7 separate regions of the Homo sapiens genome follow, and all the other regions are linked to region 1. The links are contacts of gene promoters, found by promoter capture Hi-C in human tissues and cell types (Jung and others, 2019). All regions are on one chromosome and are shown on one strand. The core of a region is centred on a gene start or on the middle of the fragment in contact, and the rest is flanking DNA. Distances in the headings are between cores, read along the strand shown. Region 1 holds the start of DBF4B (DBF4B-CDC7 kinase regulatory subunit). Region 2 overlaps GPATCH8 (G-patch domain containing 8). Region 3 has its middle 22 kb from the start of GPATCH8. Region 4 overlaps EFTUD2 (elongation factor Tu GTP binding domain containing 2). Region 5 overlaps EFTUD2 (elongation factor Tu GTP binding domain containing 2). Region 6 has its middle 14 kb from the start of FZD2. Region 7 has its middle 8.0 kb from the start of FZD2.

Evidence for each region. Contacts are between HindIII fragments. The study calls those that stand out against the background at their distance.
Region 2: a fragment that was not itself captured here is called in contact with the fragment with the promoter of DBF4B in region 1 in 3 of the 25 tissues and cell types used here (dorsolateral prefrontal cortex, mesenchymal stem cells and mesendoderm cells).
Region 3: a contact is called between a fragment that was not itself captured here and the fragment with the promoter of DBF4B in region 1, in 1 of the 25 tissues and cell types used here (H1 embryonic stem cells).
Region 4: a contact is called between a fragment that was not itself captured here and the fragment with the promoter of DBF4B in region 1, in 1 of the 25 tissues and cell types used here (mesenchymal stem cells).
Region 5: a fragment that was not itself captured here is called in contact with the fragment with the promoter of DBF4B in region 1 in 1 of the 25 tissues and cell types used here (mesenchymal stem cells).
Region 6: a contact is called between a fragment that was not itself captured here and the fragment with the promoter of DBF4B in region 1, in 5 of the 25 tissues and cell types used here (H1 embryonic stem cells, IMR-90 fibroblasts, lymphoblastoid cells and 2 more).
Region 7: a fragment that was not itself captured here is called in contact with the fragment with the promoter of DBF4B in region 1 in 3 of the 25 tissues and cell types used here (H1 embryonic stem cells, IMR-90 fibroblasts and aorta).

The regions. Positions count from the first base shown.
Region 1 is chr17:44,707,266-44,710,349 of GRCh38, reverse strand. DBF4B (DBF4B-CDC7 kinase regulatory subunit) reads right to left here and starts at 1,685. Exons shown (of 14, transcript NM_145663.3): 1 at 1,511-1,685; 2 at 984-1,046. The coding sequence starts at 1,529. RefSeq lists enhancers at 851-1,364, 1,365-1,879. The HindIII fragment of the contact is 13,873 bases long and covers 1-3,084 here.
Region 2 is chr17:44,469,633-44,472,716 of GRCh38, reverse strand. The region is part of intron 2 of GPATCH8 (G-patch domain containing 8); the gene reads left to right. Among named protein-coding and RNA genes, the nearest start is that of GPATCH8, 32 kb to the left of the region's middle. The HindIII fragment of the contact is 3,729 bases long and covers 1-3,084 here.
Region 3 is chr17:44,523,749-44,526,832 of GRCh38, reverse strand. No RefSeq gene overlaps it. Among named protein-coding and RNA genes, the nearest start is that of GPATCH8, 22 kb to the right of the region's middle. The HindIII fragment of the contact is 9,334 bases long and covers 1-3,084 here.
Region 4 is chr17:44,895,506-44,898,589 of GRCh38, reverse strand. All of the region lies in intron 1 of EFTUD2 (elongation factor Tu GTP binding domain containing 2), which reads left to right. Among named protein-coding and RNA genes, the nearest start is that of EFTUD2, 2.4 kb to the left of the region's middle. The HindIII fragment of the contact is 4,028 bases long and covers 1-3,084 here.
Region 5 is chr17:44,873,441-44,876,524 of GRCh38, reverse strand. It overlaps EFTUD2 (elongation factor Tu GTP binding domain containing 2), which reads left to right. Exons shown (of 28, transcript NM_004247.4): 10 at 425-591. Among named protein-coding and RNA genes, the nearest start is that of EFTUD2, 24 kb to the left of the region's middle. The HindIII fragment of the contact is 8,659 bases long and covers 1-3,084 here.
Region 6 is chr17:44,541,532-44,544,615 of GRCh38, reverse strand. No RefSeq gene overlaps it. Among named protein-coding and RNA genes, the nearest start is that of FZD2, 14 kb to the left of the region's middle. The HindIII fragment of the contact is 8,168 bases long and covers 1-3,084 here.
Region 7 is chr17:44,563,936-44,567,019 of GRCh38, reverse strand. No RefSeq gene overlaps it. Among named protein-coding and RNA genes, the nearest start is that of FZD2, 8.0 kb to the right of the region's middle. The HindIII fragment of the contact is 3,399 bases long and covers 1-3,084 here.

The DNA of each region.
Region 1 (3,084 bases), core at 436-2,935:
AAAACACTCTTGAAGTTCTCCAGAGAAACAGAAGGGGGAAAAAAAACCAACAAGAGATGGGAAGAATGAATAACTCAGTAAATGAAGTGGATTACTGTTTAAAAGGCAACAAGCCGATGGCATATCTGTTAACAATCCAGAAGTAAAAGTAGACGGTATTTTTTTTTTCTTTTTTTTGAGACGGAGTCTCGCTCGGTCGCCCAGGTTGGAGTGCAGTGGCGCAATCTCGGCTCGCTGCAACCTCCGCCTCCTGGGTTCAATCAATTTTCCTGCCTCAGCCTCCTGAGTAGCTGGGACTACAGGCACGCCTCACCACGCCCGCCTAATTTTTTGTATTTTTAGTAGAGATGGGGTTTCACTGTGTTAGCCAGGATGGTCTCAATCTCCTGACCTCGTGATCCGCCCGCCTTGGCCTCCCAAAGTGCTGGGATTACAGGCGTGAGCAGCCGCGCCCGGCCAACTAGATGATATTAACTAAAGGGGCAGTACGGAGGGAAGTGCCATGTGCTAAAATACTTACCTAATTAGGTAGCAGTGTTTAACTTAAGGATTTTATTGTAAACAACTATGAATGTATTAATTTATATATTTAATAAGTCACTCTATCCTGACTCCACATCTGTCTGTTAATCTTGTTCATAATATGACTCTTACTTGACCTTTATCATGAATCCCAAAACGGTCTATGATGCTGCGTCCATACACACACACACATAAAACCACTAAGTGGGCCTGGTGAAGTGGCTCACACCTGTAATCCCAGCATTTTGGGAGGCCTAGGCAGGAGAACTGCTTGAGGCCAGGAGTTTGAGACCAGCTTGGCCAACACAGCAAGACCCCATCCCAATAAATAAAATGAATAAATAAGTACATAAAAACACTGAGTGATCGAAAACTCCAACAGGGGGAACATTTTTCGGTCTTCTCCAAGAGACCCTGGGGCAATTTTCACCTCACGTCCCTAGTTCTGTCCTGTTACCCACCTAGGTCCGGGGCCCGGAGCCTACTCTCAGCCATGGAACTCTCCAGCTCGAGGCAATCGTCTCCTGAGAAAGGACATAACAGCAACTCAACCATCTTCACCAACCCTTGGAACTTCCATGCCTCCCGCCCACTACTGTCTCCCAAAACGCGCACAGAAACGCGACTCCTGGGAACAGCAAGACTCAACTCCATTCCGACCTACATCCCGCGACTCCCGCCAGGCTCTTGCCCCTCATGCCCTCCGCCTCCTTTCAGACTCCGTTCAGTCAACGGCCGTGACCTCTTGGCCACCTCCTGTCCATCTCAATCTCCATACATCCCTCCAGGCTGTTGTCCCCTACGTTCCTCTGCCACCTTCATTCCTCGGTCCCCTCAACTCCTGTGGCTCCTTCCCGGCCCCTATACCCTCCTCAGCTTCGGCACCTACCCGCTGGTCACTTCCTAAGCCCCCTCCACGACTCCGCACCTCGCCTCAGCTATTAACGACCCCTTCCGCCTTTCTTTCTCCCCTTCCCGGCATCCGTACCCTTTCCCGGTTCGCTCATCAAATGCCGGCTCCTTCTCGGCCTCCGTACTCCTTCCTCAGAGGCCTCCGTATTACATTCGCGAGCTCCATGAGCTCTTCCCGATTCCACAGTCCTGGTTATCTCAGGGCAGCTACAGCATCAATCTCTTGGCGTTTTCGGCCGCGGCTTCAGTTTAAATTTCCTGCCGGCTCCACCCCTAAAAGAACGCCGTAGCTGCGAGATCCGCCCTACGGTGTCCTTGGAAGGACAATATTAGTTTCGCGATTCCTCTTTCCGTTCCCCCACCGCCTACGTCTTCTCAAACCGTCTCTTCATTTCTTGGCTCTTCACTGGCTAGACGGCTTTGCCCCTTAATGGCCCTCAAGTTGAGGACTAGTGGTCGCTTTTTAGTGATTCTTCACACTGAGCTGCATTGAAATTCCTAGAAGTTTGAATACTAAATAACAAAATAAGCCTAACACTTGCAGAGCATTTGCAGTTTACATAAAGATTTCACTTACACATCATTTCATCTTCACATTTTTGTCCCCCTCCCGTTCTTCAATTATTACCTGCCCAACAAAACTTCTCAAAAGACGTATCTTTATCCCTCACTTCCCATCTTTTCTTCAACCCATCTAATTAGACTGCTAATTAGAGATCAAATTTGATCTAATAAGAGATCATTCAGTGGAGAGCTGGGGACCTCCCCACAAAAACTGTACTTATCCAGGTCAACTGTGATTTCCACAGTCTGAAATACTATCCTTATCATATCCAACTTATAGATGGACTATTCCTTCTTTGAAATACTTTCTTCTTTTTGCTTCCATGACTCAGCACTCTACCGTTTTTTTCCCTATCTCAATGGTTCCTCCTCAGTCCCCTTTGCTGGATCCAAAGCCACTGTTCACCTATATATTTTGGAGTATGCCAACGCTTTAGCCCTTATCCCTCTCCCTTATCTCCCTAGGAGATCTCATCCAGCTCCACAGCTTTACAATTCAGCTCTGCCACACCTTCAGATTTTCTGTAGCTCTGACCTGTCTGATCTCCAGACTCACATATTCAAGTGCCTACTGGCTATTTCAATTTGGATGTCTAATAGGCACCTCAGGCTGAACACATTCAAAACAGAACATTTGTTTCGCTGCCCCTGTCAAAAAACCACCTGTTCTCCCCCCAGGTCTTCCCCTCTCAGTAAAATGTTACTGTTTACTCAAATGTCACAATCATTCACCCAGTTGCTCAAACCAAAAACCTAGAAGTTGTCTTTCAGTACTTTCCCTTGTGCCCATCCCCACTCCAAGAAAAAAATCCTACTAACTCTGCCTCCAAAGTACATCTGGAATCAGACCACCACCACCCTAGTTCAAGCTGCTATCATTTCTTGCCTAAAGTACTGCGGTCAATTCTTCACTTCTACTCCCGAGTAGCTTCCTATCTCTCCCCAGTATAATCCATTCTCCATTCAGCAACCAGAGTGATAGTTTTTATATTTATTTATTTTTTTATTGAGAGGGAGTCTCGCTCTGTCGCCCAGGCTGGAGTGCAGTGGCGCAATCTTGGCTCACTGCAACCTTTGCCTCCCGGG
Region 2 (3,084 bases), core at 345-2,844, 240 kb after region 1:
CTCAAAAACAAACAAATAAAAAAACAAAAACAAAAAAAACCAGGAGGGTCTAAGTTTAAGACAGAGCTGTCAGAATCAGCTCCCCAGTACCACATTCTACAAGGTGCATGGTTGGTTAATTGTCTTACACAAGCTATAATTCTGTGGATACTCAACAGTAGCAGTAAATTTAGATGAAATTTGCAACCTAGTATTCATTATTACGATACTTAACAAATATTTTTTAAACCACTAAATTAAATGATATTTAACATATTTTAAGCCTAGAGGGCTACACTGAAATATTTTTGGAAATTTCATTCCTATGGCACATGAGGCTAATGCTATTTTACCTCTCATAATGTCCAGGACTTTTTCTGCCACATATAGCGAGAACAGTATCAGAAGGCAGTCTAATTGAGTAATCATTGTTGAATAATCTCATTCAGTGGGAGTAGAATTGATAATATGCCTTATTTATTAAGTAGTGCTACCTTCTTCACTTAAAATAGCAAATAGTATATAGTACTCAGGCTGGATATTTAATTTTTTTAAATAAATGAATGTTCAGAAATGTATATTAGTAATTACACTTCTAATGAAAATTTACTTCTGAAAGATAAATATATGCATTATTTGTGATGAGATAGTTTAGGTTGTAGGAGAGAACTTCATGGCCTACATTGTATTAGGTAGAAGTAGGGCACAGGATCTGGGAGAATAAACAAAGATGCAAGAAAAAATAAGAAAAAAAAAAAGAAGTATTGACACACAAGATAAGAGGGATCTTATTTCTGTTGCCTGATCATTTGTGAGTAAAATTTTAAGTGTTTTTCTCTTTTTTCAACTTTTTTTTTTTTTTTTTACTTTTTTTGGTCACAGAAAATTTTAAGTTTTAAGAGAAACTCCTACAGTGATTGGCATCAAAGTAGGTAGTGTTCCCTCCCTCCCACCAAACAAAAGAAGTCCCTTATCACCTGAGGAATGCCCACTAAATAATAAGTAAATATTTAATTACATGGCTGGCTGGCTATATTAAGCTGTTTTGTTTTTAGGGGAAAATGGTGTTACTTCTAACACAGAAAGAGTGCTGAATTAAAATCTTTCTCTGCAGCAATATCTATTGAGAGGTGCTGACTGTTTTGCTACAGCATGCAACTCAAAAGTGGCTGAAAATATGCAGCTTTGGGAGTCTACAGATCATTGCAGGAGCTAAAGGTCTAGTCATTTTTTTTTAACCAAAGGTAATCTGCAGCAGCTGGTAACCGTGGAGGTCTCTGCACAGGTTTGTGCCAAGAATATGCCTGTGTGAAGGGTTATTGTGAGTATAGGATTAAGGTCTTTTTATTTTGTAGTAGGCTAAATTTGATGCAAACCAGCAAGATGGGAAATGAGACATGAAGATGCAATAATGTATTATGCTTTTAGTGAACTTCCGAAGCTTAGATTTGTTAGTGAGATATTGGTATTTCAATTTTATTAGGTAAATGTTGAAAATATATCAAAATCCAGTATTTGTAAAGCATTTAATAATATTTTTTGAAGTTTAATTTTCCCTTATTTGCTTCAACCAACCAGATATCTTTCAATGAGATTTTTCCTCAAGAATGAAATATCTTTTTAAGAAAATTATATGAGAATTGCTAAACAACTTGATTATCTCTATTAAAAACAAGTTGAAAAGTGTGAACATTTTATCCCTATTACGAGAAGCTTTGAATTTGAATTTTAAAAATTGTTATTGCTTTATGAGATATTTAGGTCTCAAATGTTATAATTATAACCTCCACTTACTTAAAGACAAAATATTTACAAAACAAAGCTTGATCTAAAGCCATAGCTCCGTCTAGGATTCAATCACAGAAGAATTAATTGGTGTTTTTTAGGATACACGGTCCTTTATGACCTTTATCATAGTTAGAAGATGAGGAATTGGGCGCAGGGGCTCACGCCTGTAATCCCAGCACTTTGGGATGCTGAGGCGGGCAGATGACGAGGTCAGGAGTTCGAGAACAGCCTGACCAACATGGTGAAACCCTGTCTCTACTAAAAATACAAAAAGTAGCCAGACGTGGTGGCACATGCCTGTGCATGTGCTGGGATTACCCAGCTACTCAGGAGGCTGAGGCAGGAGGATTGCTTGAACCTGGGAGGCAGAGGTTGCAGTGAGTCGAGATCACGCCACTGTACTCCAGCCTGGGTGACAGAGCGAGACTCCGTCTCAAAAAAAAAAAAAAAAAAAAGCGCTGGGTGCAGTGGCTCACACCTATAATCCCAGCACTTTGGGAGGCCGAGGTGGGTGGATCACAGGGTCAGGAGATAGACCATTCTGGCTAACACGGTGAAACCCCATGTCTACTAAAAATACAAAACTTAGCCGGGTGTGGTGGCACACGCCTGTAGTCCCAGCTACTCAGGAGGCTGAGGCAGGAGAATCGCTTGAACCCAAGATCGTGCCACTGCACTCCAGCCTGGGTGACAGAGCGAGACTCGATCTCCAAAAACAAACAAACAAAAAAAGATGAGGGATCAGATGGGAGAATGACTTTAAGCTATATAGAAGGCAGAATGCATGCATCATAGACTTAAAACATGTTGTTACTGTTGTGGTTGGAAGTGCAACTACCCATCAGCCGCTAGTCGGTCCTTGCTCTACCTGACTGATTAAAATTCTTTCTTTATGGTTGTCAGGATGACCTAATAGGTTTAAAAATGTAGTGTAAGCTTCAAACTCCAGTTGCTGATGTTTAGTTTGCGCATCTTAAGGATTTGGAAGTATATGTATAATTGGGTTTTGTGATGTTGCATATCTGTCTAGATCTGTGGACTCCACTAGTTCCAAACTGTAATTCTTTATAAGACTGCTGATTTGACATTTAGCAGTGACCATATGTGGACTGCACTAGAAATAATGTGCTTCTTGGAGCTGAATGGTGTAGCATTACTATATGGCTTTTCTCTCTAGTCTTCATTGTGTCATCTGTAGTGAGCTATAGAGTTTTTTTGTTTCGGGAATTTTTACAACTTGTTTGCATGGGTTCACCTAGTAGCATTGGTTCTTGCTTATAGTCTTTAATACACAATCAGCAAAGCTTACAATCCACT
Region 3 (3,084 bases), core at 311-2,810, 180 kb after region 1:
AACCCGGGAGGCAGAGGTTACGGTGAGCTGAGATCATGTCATTGCACTCCAGCTTGGGTGACAGAGAAAGACTCCATCTCAAAATAAAAAAGAAAGAAAGAAAAGAAAAGAACATTTACTCTTGAATTCTAGGTTGGAAGTTATTTTCTTTCAGTATGTTCAAGATATCATTCTACTGGCTTATGGCTTCCATTATTGCTGTTGTTGAGAAGGCTGCTCTTAAGATTTTCTTTCTATATTCAGGCCAGGCGCAGTGGCTCATGCCACCTAGCACTTTGGGAGGCCATGGTGGGTAGATCACTCGAGGTCAGGAGTCAAGACCAGCCTGGCCAACACAGTGAAACCCCGTGACTACTAAAAATACAAAAATTAGCTGGATGTGGTGGTGGGCACCTGTAATCCCAGCTACTCGGGATGCTGAGGCAGGAGAATCTCTTGAACCTGAAGGCAGAGGTTGCAGTGAGCTGAGATCATGAGCTGAGATCACGCCACTGCACTCCAACCTGGGTGATGGAGTGAGACTTTCTCTCAAAATAAAATTTTTTTTCTTTCTGTATTCAGAATTCTGACATTTCATTGTGATGTATCTGCATGTAGATTCTATTTTATTTATCCTGCTTAGAATTCTTCACGCTTCCAGAACTTGTGGATTGATGCTCCATCAGAATTGGGAAATTCTCAGCCATTATCTTTTCAAATCTTCACCTTGCCACATTCTCTTGTTCTTTCCTTTAAAAAAAAAGTATTTTAAATAAAATAAAATGGGGTCTTGCTGTTTTGCCCAGGCTGGGTTCAAAATCCTGGCTCAAGCAATACTCACATAGTGGGATGAAAGGTATGCATGCACCACCATGCCTGGCTTCTTTTTTTTTTTTTCCTTCTAGAATTCTGATTAAACGATATTAGATTCTTTCATTGTATCCTCCATGTGTCTCAAACTCTTCTTTTTGTCCCTTTTCTGCATTCTGGGTAATTTCTTCTGCTCTGTCTTCCAATGCCTCTCTGGGATCCCACTTTCCTTTAAGTTTTGGCCTGGAAATTCATCTCTCTTGTCAAATATCTGTAATATTGCTAAGGATTTTTTTTTTTTAATTGATCATTCTTGGGTGTTTCTCGCAGAGGGGGATTTGGCAGGGTCACAGGACAATAGTGGAGGGAACGTCAGCAGAAAAACAAGTGAACAAAGGTCTCTGGTTTTCCTAGGCAGAGGACCCTGCGGCCTTCCACAGTGTTTGTGTCCCTGGGTACTTGAGATTAGGGAGTGGTGATGACTCTTAAGGAGCATGCTGCCTTCAAGCATCTGTTTAACAAAGCACATCTTGCACCGCCCTTAATCCATTCAACCCTGAGTGGATACAGCACATGTTTCAGAGAGCACAGGGTTGGGGGTAAGGTCACAGATCAACAGGATCCCAAGGCAGAAGAATTTTTCTTAGTACAGAACAAAATGAAAAGTCTCCCATGTCTACCTCTTTCTACACAGACACAGCAACCACCCGATTTCTCAGTCTTTTCCCCACCTTTCCCCTTTCTATTCCACAAAACTGCCATTGTCATCATGGCCCGTTCTCAATGAGCTGTTGGGTACACCTCCCGGACGGGGTGGTGGCCGGGCAGAGGGACTCCTCACTTCCCAGTAGGGGCGGCCGGGCAGAGGCGCCCCTCATGTCCCAGACGGGGCGGCTGGCCGGGCGGGGGGCTGACCCCCCCACCTCCCTCCCGGACGGGGCGGCTGGCCGGGCAGGGGGCTGACCCCCCCACCTCCCTCCCGGACGGGGCGGCTGGCCGGGCAGAGGGGCTCCTCACTTCCCAGTAGGGGCGGCCGGGCAGAGGCGCCCCTCACCTCCCGGACGGGGCGGCTGGCCGGGCGGGGGGCTGACCCCCCCACCTCCCTCCCGGACGGAGCGGCTGGCCGGGCAGAGGGGCTCCTCACTTCCCAGTAGGGGCGGCCGGGCAGAGGCGCCCCTCACTTCCCGGACGGGGCGGCTGGCTGGGCGGGGGGCTGATCCCCCCACCTCCCTCCCGGACGAGGTGGCTGCTGGGCAGAGACGCTCCTCACTTCCCAGACGGGGTGGCTGCTGGGCGGAGGGGCTCCTCACTTCTCAGACGGGGCGGCTGCCGGGTGGAGGGACTCCTCACTTCTCAGACGGGGCGGTTGCCAGGCAGAGGGTCTCCTCACTTCTCAGACCATGGGTGGCCGGGCAGAGATGCTCCTCACTTCCCAGATGTGATGGCGGCCGGGAAGAGGCGCTCCTCACTTCCTAGATGGGATGGCGGCCGGGCAGAGACGCTCCTCACTCTCCAGACTGGGCAGCCAGGCAGAGGGGCTCCTCACATCCCAGATGATGGGCGGCCAGGCGGAGACGCTCCTCACTTCCCAGACGGGGTGGCGGCCAGGCAGAGGCTGCAATCTCGGCACTTTGGGAGGCCAAGGCAGGCTGCTGGGAGGTGGAGGTTGTAGCGAGCCAAGATCACGCCACTGCACTCCAGCCTGGGCACCATTGAGCACTGAGTGAACGAGACTCCGTCTGCAATCCCGGCACCTCGGGAGGCCGAGGCTGGCGGATCACTCGCGGTTAGGAGCTGGAGACCAGCCCGGCCAACACAGCGAAACCCCGTCTCCACCAAAAAAATACGAAAACCAGTCAGGCGTGGCGTCGCGCGCCTGCAATCGCAGGCACTGGGCAGGCTGAGGCAGGAGAATCAGGCAGGGAGGTTGCAGTGAGCCGAGATGGCAGCAGCACCGTCCAGCTTCAGCTCGGCATCAGAGGGAGACCGTGGAAAGAGAGGGAGAGGGAGACTGTGGAAAGAGAGGGAGAGGGAGACCGTGGGGAGAGGGAGAGGGAGAGGGAGAGGAGGATTTTTTTTTTAAAAAGCCTTTATCCAGCTTTTGCATTTGTTTTCAATGGGAAGGTTGGTCTGAATAACTTAGCCTATCATTACAGGAAATGGAAGTCCTACCATCCTCCTCACTCCCTCTTTTTCATGTATGTTCTCCTTTCCCTGATGATCCAAATTGGAGCCATTCTCCAGGGACTGTCTCCAAGCCCATCTCTTCCATCGGCCCTTCCCTGTCCTGCCCCT
Region 4 (3,084 bases), core at 368-2,867, 190 kb before region 1:
GCAGTGGCCCTGAGGCAGAAATGAGCTTGGCTTGTTCCATGAACAGCTTTCTATAACAGTTTCTTCAATCGGCCGGGCGCGGTGGCTCACGCCTGTAATCCCAGCACTTTGGGAGAAAGACGCGGGCGGATCACCTGAGGTCAGGAGTTCGAGACCAGCCTGGCCAACATGGTGAAAACCCATCTCTACTAAGAATACAAAAAAATTAGCCAGGCGTAGTGGTGCACTCCTGTAGTCCCAACTACTCGGGAGGCTGAGGCAGGAGAATCGCTTGAAACCAGGAGGCGGAGGTTGCAGTGAACTGAGATCGTGCCGTTGTACTCCAGCCTGGGCAACAAGAGCAAAACTCTGTCTCAAAAAATATATATAAAATAAATAAATAATTTCTTCAATCCCTTGACTGGGGTCTTGGGAGAATGAGATAAGCATAAATGCGATAGTAGCTTTTTAGAAGTAAAAAGAATATGCATGTGAAAGTTTCCATAATAATTTACATTTAATTATTGGTCCTTGGAGCTCCAATTCTCTCTCTACATTCAGCACCCAGCAGGTGGCATTGAGGGAGTTGGAGGTATCAGTCTAATCCAAGAAATATCAGCATCTTAAAATTAAACATCCCATTCAGTTAACATTTATCCAGTTCCTACTTATGCAAGGTGCTGTCTTGGCTATTGGCTGTGTTAGCATTGGTACTTTTTTCTCAATTATTTAAAAATGTAAAATGTGGCCGGGTGCGGTGGCTCACACCTGTAATCTCAGCACTTTGGGAGGCCGAGGTGGGCTAATCACCTGAGGTCAAGAGTTCGAGACTGCCTGGCCAACATGGTTGAAACCCCGTCTCTACTAAAAATACAAAAATTAGCCAAGTGTGATGGCGGGTGCCTGTAATCCCAGCTACTTGGGAGGTTGAGGCAGGAGAATCGCTTGAACCTGTGAGGCGGAGGTTGCAGTGAGTCGAGATCGTGCCACTGCACTCCAGCCTAGGCAACAGAGCGGGACTCCGTCTCAAAAAAATAAAAAAATAAAAATGTAAAATGCATTCTTAGCTGGAGGACCATGCAAAAACAGTTGGAGGGGCCAGATTTGGCCACAGGTCAGAGTTTGTCAACTCTTGCTCTAAAGTATTAGGAGGTGAAGAGGCATTGTGTCAGCAGCATACTGTCAAATATTTGGGGAAAAGAAAGTTATTTGTACTGTTCTTGCCACTTTTTGGTATTATTTTAAAATTAAATTTAGTATCATAAAAGAAGTGAAGAGAAGAAGCAGGTGCATGGAACACAGGGTTCTCATGATCAAGGATGGCAAAAAATAATGCTAGCTAACGTTTATTGAGCCTAGGACTCTGGTAAATTCTTTTTTTTTTTTTTTTTTTTTGAGACGGAGTCTCTCTCTGTCACCCAGGCTGGAGTGCAGTGGCGCTGTCTCCGCTCACTGCAAGCTCCGCCTCCTGGGTTCACACCATTCTCCTGCCTCAGCCTCCCCAGTAGCTGGGACTACGGGCGCCCACCACCACACTTGGCTAATTTTTTGTATTTTTAGTAGAGACAGGGTTTCACCGTGTTAGCCAGGATGGTCTCGATCTCCTGACCTCGTGATCCACCCACCTCAGCCTCCCAAAGTGCTGGGATTACAGGCGTGAGCCACTGCACCCAGCTGGACTCTGGTAAATTCTTTACACAGGGTGTTTTATTTAATCCTCATAACCATTTATTCAGTGAGGATTATTCATTCCATTTTCCAGTTGAAGAATAGGAATCAGGTTGGAAGAGATGAAGTAACTTACCTCAAGTTACATAGTTGTTGGTGACAAAGTTGGGATTTGAATCTAAGTCTTCCAACTCCAGAGCCCTGATGCTCTAGTCTGTTATTTATTGCTTATAAACTATAGTTGGTGATGGTAATTAGTAACTACTATTTGTTTATTTATTTTGTTTATTTTTTTCGAGACGGAGTCTCACTCTGTCAGCCAGGCTGAAGTGCAGTGGTGCGATCTCAGCTCACTGCAACCTCTGCCTCCTGGATTCAAGTGATTCTCCTGCCTCAGCCTGCTGAGTAGCTGGGACTACAGGTGTGTGCCACCACACCTGGCTAATTTTTTGTATTTTTAGTAGAGACGGGGTTTCACTGTGTTAGCCAGGATGGTCTCTATCTCCTGACCTCATGATCCGCCCATCTTGGCCTGCCAAAGTGCTGGGATTACAGGCATGAGCCACTGTGCCCAGCCAGTTAACTACTATTTAAGACAAAATTAAATACTGATAAAGGTGCAAAAAGCTCTAGTAGGATAGAGGAATGAGAAATTGAGGAGCTAGGAAAGCTTGAAGGAGGTGGTGGCATTTGAACTGTTTCTTTGAATAGAATTTCAGTAATTGAAGTGGAGAAAACCCACAAAACACTACTTAATTACAAAGGGAAAATGAGTAACTTTACAATGGAGAGGCCTGGCAAACATCACCTTAATGAAGTGATCAAAGTTAACGTTACCACTAATGGGGCAAATTGAAATCATGTATCACCTGATACGAAATGCATTGAGAAGAACACAGCATCACTTCTATGATATTCCTGCCCAAAACGCATAACCTGAATATTATCATAAGGTAACATCAGACAACCTCAAATCAAGGGACATCCTTAAGGATTTCATGACAGTCCTTGGAAGGAAAGACTGAAGATTGTAGATCCAAAGACTGAAGATTGTAGATCCAAAGAGACTAGAGACATGACAACCAAATGCAAACATGATCCTGGATTGGATCCTTAGGTGTGTAAGGTATTATTGGAACAATCTGTGAAACTTGAATGGGATCTGTAAAGAAGGTGGTAGTAATGTGTGAATATCAATTTTCTGATTTTGATGGTTGTATTGTGGTTATGTAGGAGAATGTTCTTGTTTGTAGGAATTACACATGGTGAGGGAGAGGTTGGCAAACTTTTTCTATTAAGGACTGGATAATATTTTAGGCTTTGTGAGCCATATGGTTTCAGTCTCAACTATTCAACTCTGCTATTACAGTGTGAAGGCAACTGTAAATGATGCAAATGAATATGCATGGCTGTTTTCCAGTGAAACTTTTTTTTTTT
Region 5 (3,084 bases), core at 320-2,819, 170 kb before region 1:
TACTGGGGTACATTGCTTCTAGGCCCTCTCACTGAGCACAGCTAGGTTATATACACTCATACATATCTATAACTATTTCTACACACATATATTAAAAATCATGCATTAATCCTAATACCCCCAATTCCATTTCAGCACCACTGGCTCTTCCCAGCCTTCTTAGTTCCTTCTTTAGCACTGAGAAACCTGGCTCCCAACATCATTGTTCATGGGTTTATTCATTTCTCAATCCTGCAAGGTGCCCTCTTAAAGTTCCTGTGTCTATCTTCGGGCAGGATGCTCTCTGCTTCCACCCAGTAATATTTCCCGAGGTCTTTTTTTCTCCCCAGGCTTCATGGTTTGAAATAGTGCCTTCTTTGGTTCTGCTTTGAACTTTCTGCCCTCCTTGTTCTTCTTACCACCTTCTGAGCCTTGTTTTTCTCAGGTGATGCTGAACACAGAGCGGCTGATCAAGCATGCGGTGCAGGAGAGGCTGGCAGTCACTGTGTGCATCAACAAGATTGACCGGCTGATCCTGGAGCTGAAGCTGCCTCCAACTGATGCTTATTACAAGCTGCGCCACATTGTGGATGAGGTCAATGGATTAATAAGGTAGAAAACCCCTGGGAGTGGATTTCCTGTCCTCGGAGGCTCTGGGTTTTAACCCTGAATACCTCTGGGAACAACTGTGATTTATTTCTAAGCGTGTGTTGATGAGTTTGTTGGGCAAAACTAGAGGCACATCCTGGGACTCTGCAGGGGTTGACTTCATACTTTAACACATCTTCATTTTACTATTATGATCAGTACTTGGGCTGTATTAATTTCTTCTCTTTTTAGAGATAGGATCTCTGTTACCCAAGCTAGAGTGCAGTGTCACAATCACAGCTCACTGCAGCCTCGAACTTCTGGGCTCAAGCAATCCTCCCACCTCAGTCTCCTGATAGCTGGGACCACAGGCATGTGCCACCATACCTGGCTATATATTTTTTAAATTAATTAATTTATTTTTTTTTGAGACGGAGTCTCGCTCTGTCGCCCAGGCTGGAGTGCAGTGGCATGATCTCGGCTCACTGCAAGCTCCGCCTCCCGGGTTCATGCCATTCTCCTGCCTCAGCCTCTCAAGTAGCCGGGACTACAGGCACCCGTCACCACGCCCGGCTAATTTTTTGTATTTTTAGTAGAGACAGGGTTTCACTGTGTTAGCCAGGTTGGTCTTGACCTTCTGAGCTCGTGATCCGCCCACCTCGGCCTCCCAAAGTGCTGGGATTACAGGCGTGAACCACCACCCCCGGCCAATTTTTTTTAATTTTAATTTTTATTTTTTATTTATTTATATTTTTTTTGTAGAGATGGAGTCTTGCTATGTTGCCCAGGCTGGTCTTAAACTGGCCTCAAGCAATTCTTCCACCTTGGCCTTCCAAAGTGCTAGCATTACAGATTTGAGCCGCTGCACCCAGCCTGGGCTCTAGAATCAGCCTCCTCTTCACCACATACCAACCATGTAAAGTTGGGCAGATTACTTAAGTTCAGTTTCTGCTTCAGTAAAAAAGGAATAATATTTGCCTAACAGCAATAGTAGCAAATATTATTAGGCATTTATAGTATAAGTTAACATAACTTACAAGGGATGTTATAAGAAATTAAATAGATATTTGATGGAACACAGCACAGTGCTTGCAATGTAGCAGCTGATGTGCTGAATAATGTTAGCTGCTATTATCTTATAATTAACACAGTCTAAATAAATTAAGAACTGTTTGCTGTGTTTCTGTGGATATACCTGCTTCTCAACAAGATGGATTTAGGGCTTGCATTGATACATATGAGTGATGGTTATGATACCTTAGAATATAATATCAAAGGGCCTTTGAAACAGAGGTTAAATATATCTTAAAGACAGTCTTACTACAGGCTGAAAGATGTGCTAGATGACTTCCTGCAGCCCCTCAAATGGGCCTGTGAGGAGGCCGTCCTACTGAAAGAATGCCTCTCCAACTGAAAGAATGCCTCTCCATTTAAGGATTGGGGATGGAACCTGTGTGGCTAGAGACAGATACCTTCAGGAGCCTTCCCAGTGTGTAGCACTACTTTTCAAAAGGAATATCTTCACCCCATCTCTGCAAGGACTGAGAATGACTAGAGCCCAGTGTGACATCATGAGTCCAAAGGATGAAATGACAAATATATTTTAATAAGAAGGCCAAGCGTGATAGCTTATGCCTGTAATCCCAGCACTTTGAGAGGTCAAGGCAGGAGGATCCCTTGGGGCTAGGAGTTCAAGGCCAGCCTGGGCAACATAGCTAGACTCTGTGTCTACAAAAAATAATTTTGAAATTAGCTTGGCGTGCTGGCATGTGTTTGTAGTCTTAGCTACTCGGGAGGCAGAGGCAAGAGGATCACTTGAGCCAAGGAGTTCAGGGTTATAGTGAGCTATGATTGTGCTGTTGTACTCCAATGTGGGTGACAGAGTGAGATCCTGTCTCTTAAAAAAAAAAAAAAAAAAAAAAGAGGCCGGGCACGGTGGCTCACGCCTGTAATCTCAGCACTTTGGGAGGCCGAGGCGGGCGGATCATGAGGTCAGGAGATCGAGACCATCCTGGCTAACACGGTGAAACCCCATCTCTACTAAAAAATACAAAAAAAATTAGCCGGGCTTGGTGGCGGGCGCCTGTAATCCCAGCTACTGAGGAGGCTGAGGCAGGAGAATGGCGTGAACCCGGGAGACGGAGCTTGCAGTGAGCTGAGATTGCACCACGGCACTCCAGCCTGGGCAACAGAGCAAGACTCCATCTCAAAAAAAAAAAAAAAAAGTAGGAAGTGGGATAGAGCTGAACTTAACCTGATTTACTAAAATAGGAAGTCAAGAGGTCATGTTTCAAACCTCTAAACAAGAGGCCAGGCACAGTGGCTTATACCTAGAATCCCAGCACTTTGGGAGGCCAAGCAGGATATTGCTTGAGCCCAAGAGTTCAAGGTTCAAGCCTGGGCAACATGGCTTTTGTATCTCATCTCTACAAAAATTAGCCAGGCTTGGTGGTTCATGCCTGCAGTCCCAGCTACTTGGGATGCTGAGGAGGGAGGATTGCGTGAGCTTGAGAGATC
Region 6 (3,084 bases), core at 219-2,718, 170 kb after region 1:
CCTCTTGAGCCCAGGAGGTCGAAGCTGCAGCGAGCTGTGATTGCAGCACTGCACTCCAGCCTGGGTGCCAGAGCAAGATCCTGTCTCAAAACAAAACAAACAAAAACAAATCTATTCTGATCTCCAATCTGAGAAGGGGTGAAGTGACAAATAAATCTGACATCATCGTGAGAACCCATGAAGTGGACGTAGGACACCTGAATGCTCGTGTCCTGGTCTTGGTGCTTAATACTTTTCTGACCTTCAGTGAATCTTTTCTCTGAGTATCAGTTTCTCCATCTGAAGAATGGGCACAATAAGTCTGTCCTGTTCCCTGTGAAGTGAGGACTGAAAGAGAAACTGGATTTGTAGGGACAGTTGCTTTGGGAAAGGAAGCTCAGATGGTACATGCTGCTTTGTAACCCAGAAGCAGAATATTAGCCAGAGGTCAGCCTGGGAGCCTGGACACAGGCACCTAGGGCAGACCTAGTCACGAGGCAGCATGCTAGGCAGACCACTGTCCTGGACTTGGACTCAATGGATTCAGCTCTGCTTCCTCACTGCATTCCCTGAGATAGGTCACTCTCCCTTTCTGAAGCTCTGACTCTTCATCGATAAGATAGGGACACTAATCTTCTCTTGAAGGGTGGGGAAGATAAGATGAAGTGGTAAGTGACTTCACATAGTGGATGCTCAATATAAGCCTTTAGTGTTGGTTTTTCCTGCTCTCAGGCAGAGGCAGCTGGAGAAGGAAGTTTGCTGGGGAGTTGGGGCAGGTGTCAGACTTCTAAGACCCTGGGGGTTGGTTGCTTTCTCCCGTGACTGGATCACTGATTAATCCTTGAGGAATCTCGAGGCCTAAGGGTTGGTAGTCTAGAGGGACAAATATGTGAATACTGGTTAAAGAAAGAAAAAATCTACAAGGGACTTCAGTTTTGGGGATAGACTGATATAGCCTCTTTGAAGCTGGGGCTGACCCAGTCACTCTGCAAGCATCTGGTTGTGCATACCTTAGTGCCCCTCCTCCAAACTCTTCCAAACATCTCTAAGGGTCCCAAAAGGGTAGAAATGGACTCATTCAGAAGTGAAGAAAGAGATCAGGGCCGCAGCTCTCCATAGCTCCTGTCAGGCCCCTTGGGAGGAGCCTGAATGCTGGGGCAGCTTGTGGGGGGGACTCCAATGATGGAACCAGGAGAGGCAGTTCCTACCTTGTGGATGGGGGTCACTAGGAAGGGAAGAAAAACACTTCCCTCCTCTCCCCGGGAAGCTTTCCTTCCCTGCAGCTGGTGCCCCAAGGATCCCCGCCCCCCATCCCAGGCCCTTCCCTTAGAGAGAGCCTGCTGAGCCTGGAATGAGAAGAATCTGAACTACAAACAGACCTCCCAGAGGCACCCCCAACTCTTCTCTAACCACTTCTAGCCAGCAAAAGGCTGGCTTCCTGGAGTGGAGGCAGGACTGGGGTTTGGGCCTTGGAGAAGGGGCCTAGGTAGGGGCGGTGGGGGGATATTTTTTCCTGGAGAGAGAGGGGAGGGAAAGGTTGAGGTCAAGATAAGGACCAGGTCATACAAGAACCATTTTCCAGGCAGGGCACGGTGGCTCAGCACTTTGGGAGGCCAAGGTGAGCAGATCACTTGAGGCTAGGAGTTTGAGACCAGCCTGGCCAACATGGTGAAACCCCGTCTCTACTGAAAATACAAAATTAGCCAGGTGTGGTGACAGGTGCCTGTAGTTCCAGCTGTTTGGGAGGCTGAGGCACAAGAATCACTTGAACCCAGGAGGCAGAAGTTGCAGTGAGCCGAGATCATGCCACTGCACTCCAGCCTGGGCGACAGAGCGAGACTCCATCTAAAAAAAAAAAGAACCATTTTCCAAACCAAAAATCATCAGAACCAGCGAGAGTATACTTGCAGGGGCTATGAAATTGGGGGTGTGAAATTAAGCCTGCCCCAGAATGATCCAAGCTATGAGGTCTGTGCCCCAAGAGTGACAAGCAATTGCCCAAATCCAAATACAACCTAGGAAGACAGAAAGAAACTGTTGGCGCCCCTGCCCCCACCCCCACCCCCTTGGCCTCTCTCTCTTCCTGTCTGAAACATTCAGTTGAGGTGGCCTCCAGGGCACACGCTCTCCCAGCCCTGTCTGGGCTGCATAACTGAGTCTAAGAAACCTGTGAATGGGCTTTGGGGAGTTGAGGGCAGGGGTTGGAAGCAGAGGGAAGATGGAGACACCAGCCAAAAGGACAGATGGCACAGAGCCAGAGGAGCCCCTCATGCCTGCCACACTTCCCCAGACCCTGGCCTTCTGCCCACTGTCCCCCTAGCATCCCTCCTCTCACCTGGACCCAGTCTGGGGCTTTGATGTGAGTCAGCCAGGGCTGTCAGTGCCCAGGGATGCCAGGCAGTGTACCAGTGGGGGAACCCTGGGGAGGGGACCAGGGAGGAGAGGCTGCTGGAGCTGGAAGCCGCCTTAGGCACGATGACCTCTTTGCAGGGGCCTCTCTCTCCAGCTTGTATAACACAGCTCCTGCCAAGGGTGGTATAGAAAGGCACAGAGCCCACAGCGGGCTGGGGAAGGCGGCTGAAAAGGCAGCTTAAGGGCTTCCTGCTGGGTGAGATGGATTAGGGGCCTGTGAGGAGGGAGCCGGGCAGTGAGAAAGGCACCGGCCCAGCGCCAGAGCCCCTTGGCCAAGACCCTCTGGGAGCAGGAGGCCCTAGGTGTCTGGCAGGAGGCAGTCAGATCAGCATCCTCCACTTGGCCGAGGGGCTGGGAGGATGGGGATCCAGCCGGAGCGACACACAGGGATGGGGAGCTAGACCCCGGGGCCCCCAAAATAGAGGGGGGAAGGAACGGAGGAGACATTTCTCGATGAAGAAGTGGACTTCTAGCAGGAAAAGGGAGGAGGGAAAGAACTGACTTGCCCAGCGATTCTATCCGTGTCATCCCGCTGCCTCTCAGAGTGAAGGTGTCATCCCAGAGGTTTTCTGCTGGGAGGGGAGGGGACAACCCTTCCTATCCTCCAGCCAGCCCTCTGCTTCTCAAGGACCCCAGTGTGGAGCTGAGAGAAGGGGACCCACATGGTCCTAAAGTTTCCACACAAGCACTGAT
Region 7 (3,084 bases), core at 418-2,917, 140 kb after region 1:
GTTGATAATGGGGAAGGTAGGTTATGTATGTGTAGGGACAGGGGTATATGGGAACTCTTGTACCTTCCTCTAAAAAAATTAGTCTAAAAAAAAGCATAAGGACTAAAAGCTGGGTTTGAGCTCCAATTCTGCAATTACCTGTGAGCTTCAGGCAGTGTCTCTCTGGCCTCTGGGCCTCATTTTTCTTTTTCTTTTCTTTGTTTGTTTTTTTTTTTTTTTTTTTGAGACGGAGTCTCATTCTATCACCCAGGCTGGAGTGCGGTGGTGCGATCTTGGCTCACTGCAACCTCCGCTTCCCAGGTTCAAACGATTCTCCTGCCTCAGCCTCCTGAGTAGCTGGGATTACAGGCAAGCGCCACCACGCCCGGCTAATTTTTGTATTGTTAGTAGAGACTGGGTTTCACCATGTTGGTCAGGCTGGTCTCCAACCCCTGACCTTGTGATCCGCCCGCCTCGGCCTCCCAAAGTGCTGGGATCATAGGCGTGAGCCAGCGCACCCAGCCGCTCTCACACGGTTTGAAATGTGCCAATCAGACCAACTTTTCCTAGAGGTGCCATGTACACCTTTACCTTGACAGCCACAGGCATGGCTCAGGGCACCTTTCTTCACCCTTTCCCCTCCCAGCTCAGGCGCCCATGCGTGCCCGCAGCAGGCAAAGGCCAAGCCCAACAGCCAAGAGTGGGCGGGAGAAAGCCGTGGTGGTAGCCAAACAGGGCAAACGGATGGGCGCTTCTTGCCGGCTGCGCCAATAAAACCTTTCCTCCCCTGGCCAAAGAATTCAACACGGTCTGAACTAGAGGAAAGATATAAGGATTAGGGGGGCCCACTTGCAGTAAGCAAGGGGTTCTTCTCCCAGAATCCTCCTCTTTTTGGCCTTTTAACTGTTTTTCTTTTTTTCCTTTTCTAAGTGAGAGGGCTCCCCCATCCCAGTAGTTTCTGATAGGGAAGTTAACGGAGGAGCGACCCCTGCTGGCTGAGAACTGCAAATTCAGCAGGGCACATCTGAGACACTCTGAACAGATACAAACAGCCTCTAAACCAACTTTTCAATCCCAAATTCGATTCCAGGCTTCAGGCTGAGGCCCTAGAGAGAAAAACCAGGTCCGAGGGATCCAAAGCCAGGCAACAGGCACAATGTAAATGGGCAGAACCAATTCCTGACGAGTGAACCCCCCACCACATAGAAGGAGGCCATGTTCCATGGCACAAACAGGCCCAGGGAACTCAGTTTGCTGACAGCAGGAAGAAAGGGAGGGAGAAAGGGAGGTGTAGATGAGAGCAGTTAATTCCTATTCTCCAGGTTTTCCCTGCTTCATGGGTACATACCGCATTGGTACCCATGGCTGGCACCTGACAAGGTCACCAGGGCTCAGGGACAAGAGGTGGAGGGTGCAGGGAGGATACTCGCTTTCTCTCTCCATCACACTCTGAGTATTCGCTGAAAGAAGGAAGGGAGTAGGGGACGCCTTTTTTCCCTGTCTTTCAGAATGGGCAACCAGTTCTCTTCACCACCCCCAGCTTATACTCTTCTGGAGTATAATGTATTCTGAACCATTGGGATTGCTTTGACCCTCAGCATCTGAAGGAAAAGCACCTCATAGCCCTCTGCACAAAGGTTTGGCCAAATTATGATTTATAGGAAGGACTGGCGTGGCCTCAGGAAGGGACCATTCATTTCAATACCATTGAACTAGGACCAAGCCCCTCAATTATACTAAATTGTCCATGATTGACCAGGGATTTGATGAAAATCCCACTGCCTTCCTGGAGAGGCTAAGAGGGAGCTTGGTAAAGCACCTCTCTCTATCTCCTGATTCAGTAGAGGGACAACTAATTCTAAAGGATCAATTTATTACTTGGGCAGCTCCTGACATCAGAAGGAAGATACAAAAACAGGCCCCGGGACCAGATAGTACTTTGAAGAAACTCCTGAAAGTAGCCACCTTGGTCTTTTATAATAGAGACTGGGAGGCCCAGGAAAGAGAGAGGAGATACAGGAAAGAGGCAAAAGCTTTAATGGCCATCGTGCAAGTCCACAAATCCCAGAATTCCCAGGGTGCACCTGTTAACTGCTAAAAGATATGGCAAGAACAGTTATCTCTTCTCAAGTTGAACTGCTCCTATATAAGGTTTAATTTCTTACAGCTCAGGGTACAATGTTGTTAGTATATTTTACTTCTTGTCTCTGGAATCTTTGGCACTAAATTCTTTCCTTGTATAATACACGTTTAATTTATGCACACTTAACCTTATAAAACTTGTTTTATTCTCTTGCGCCTAGAAGCCACCAAACTGCAAACGGTCAGGCAATCGGAGCCTCGGATGATGGCTCCCCTTTCCTAGGAACCCTTAGATAGACCTCTAGGAGGAGTCTGACTGCTGTTTTCCCCAAAACAATGCCCCCTATCAGCATGAAGCAGCTAAGACCAGTCATCGTCCATATTCTAAGGGCAGTTAGATGTACCTCTTCACACGGAGGAAATGATAGGGAAGTGCTGGGAAGGGAAGACTGTGGTCCTTTTAAATGATAGGGAACAGTTTAAAAACTATTGGTAACACTTCTCTTGTCAAGAAATTAGATCTTTTGATCCACTGATTTTATTTTTGGAAATGTATTCTAAGTGGGGGCCAGGCGCGGTGGCTCACACCTGTAATCCCAGCACTTTGGGAGGCCAAGGCGGGCGGATCACGAGGTCAGGAGATCGAGACCATCCTGGCTAACCCGGGGAAACCACATCTCTACTAAAAATACAAAACAAAACAAAAAAAACTAGCCAGGCGTGGTGGCGGGCGCCTGTAGTCCCAGCTACTCCAGAGGCTGAGGCAGGAGAATGGCGTGAACCCGGGAGGCGGAGCTTGCAGTGAGCCGAGATCGCGCCACCGCACTCCAGCCTGGGCGACAGAGCCAGACTCCGTCTCAAAATAAATAAATAAATAAATGTATTCTAAGTAATTGGAAAAGTGCTACAATTTATTGAACTACTGCCTGAGGGCTCTGTAGATGTATGGTCCCGTCTACTACTCATGTTACCAGACAGGTACTATCAGCCTTTTTATAGATGAGGACACACGCTCAGAGGTTA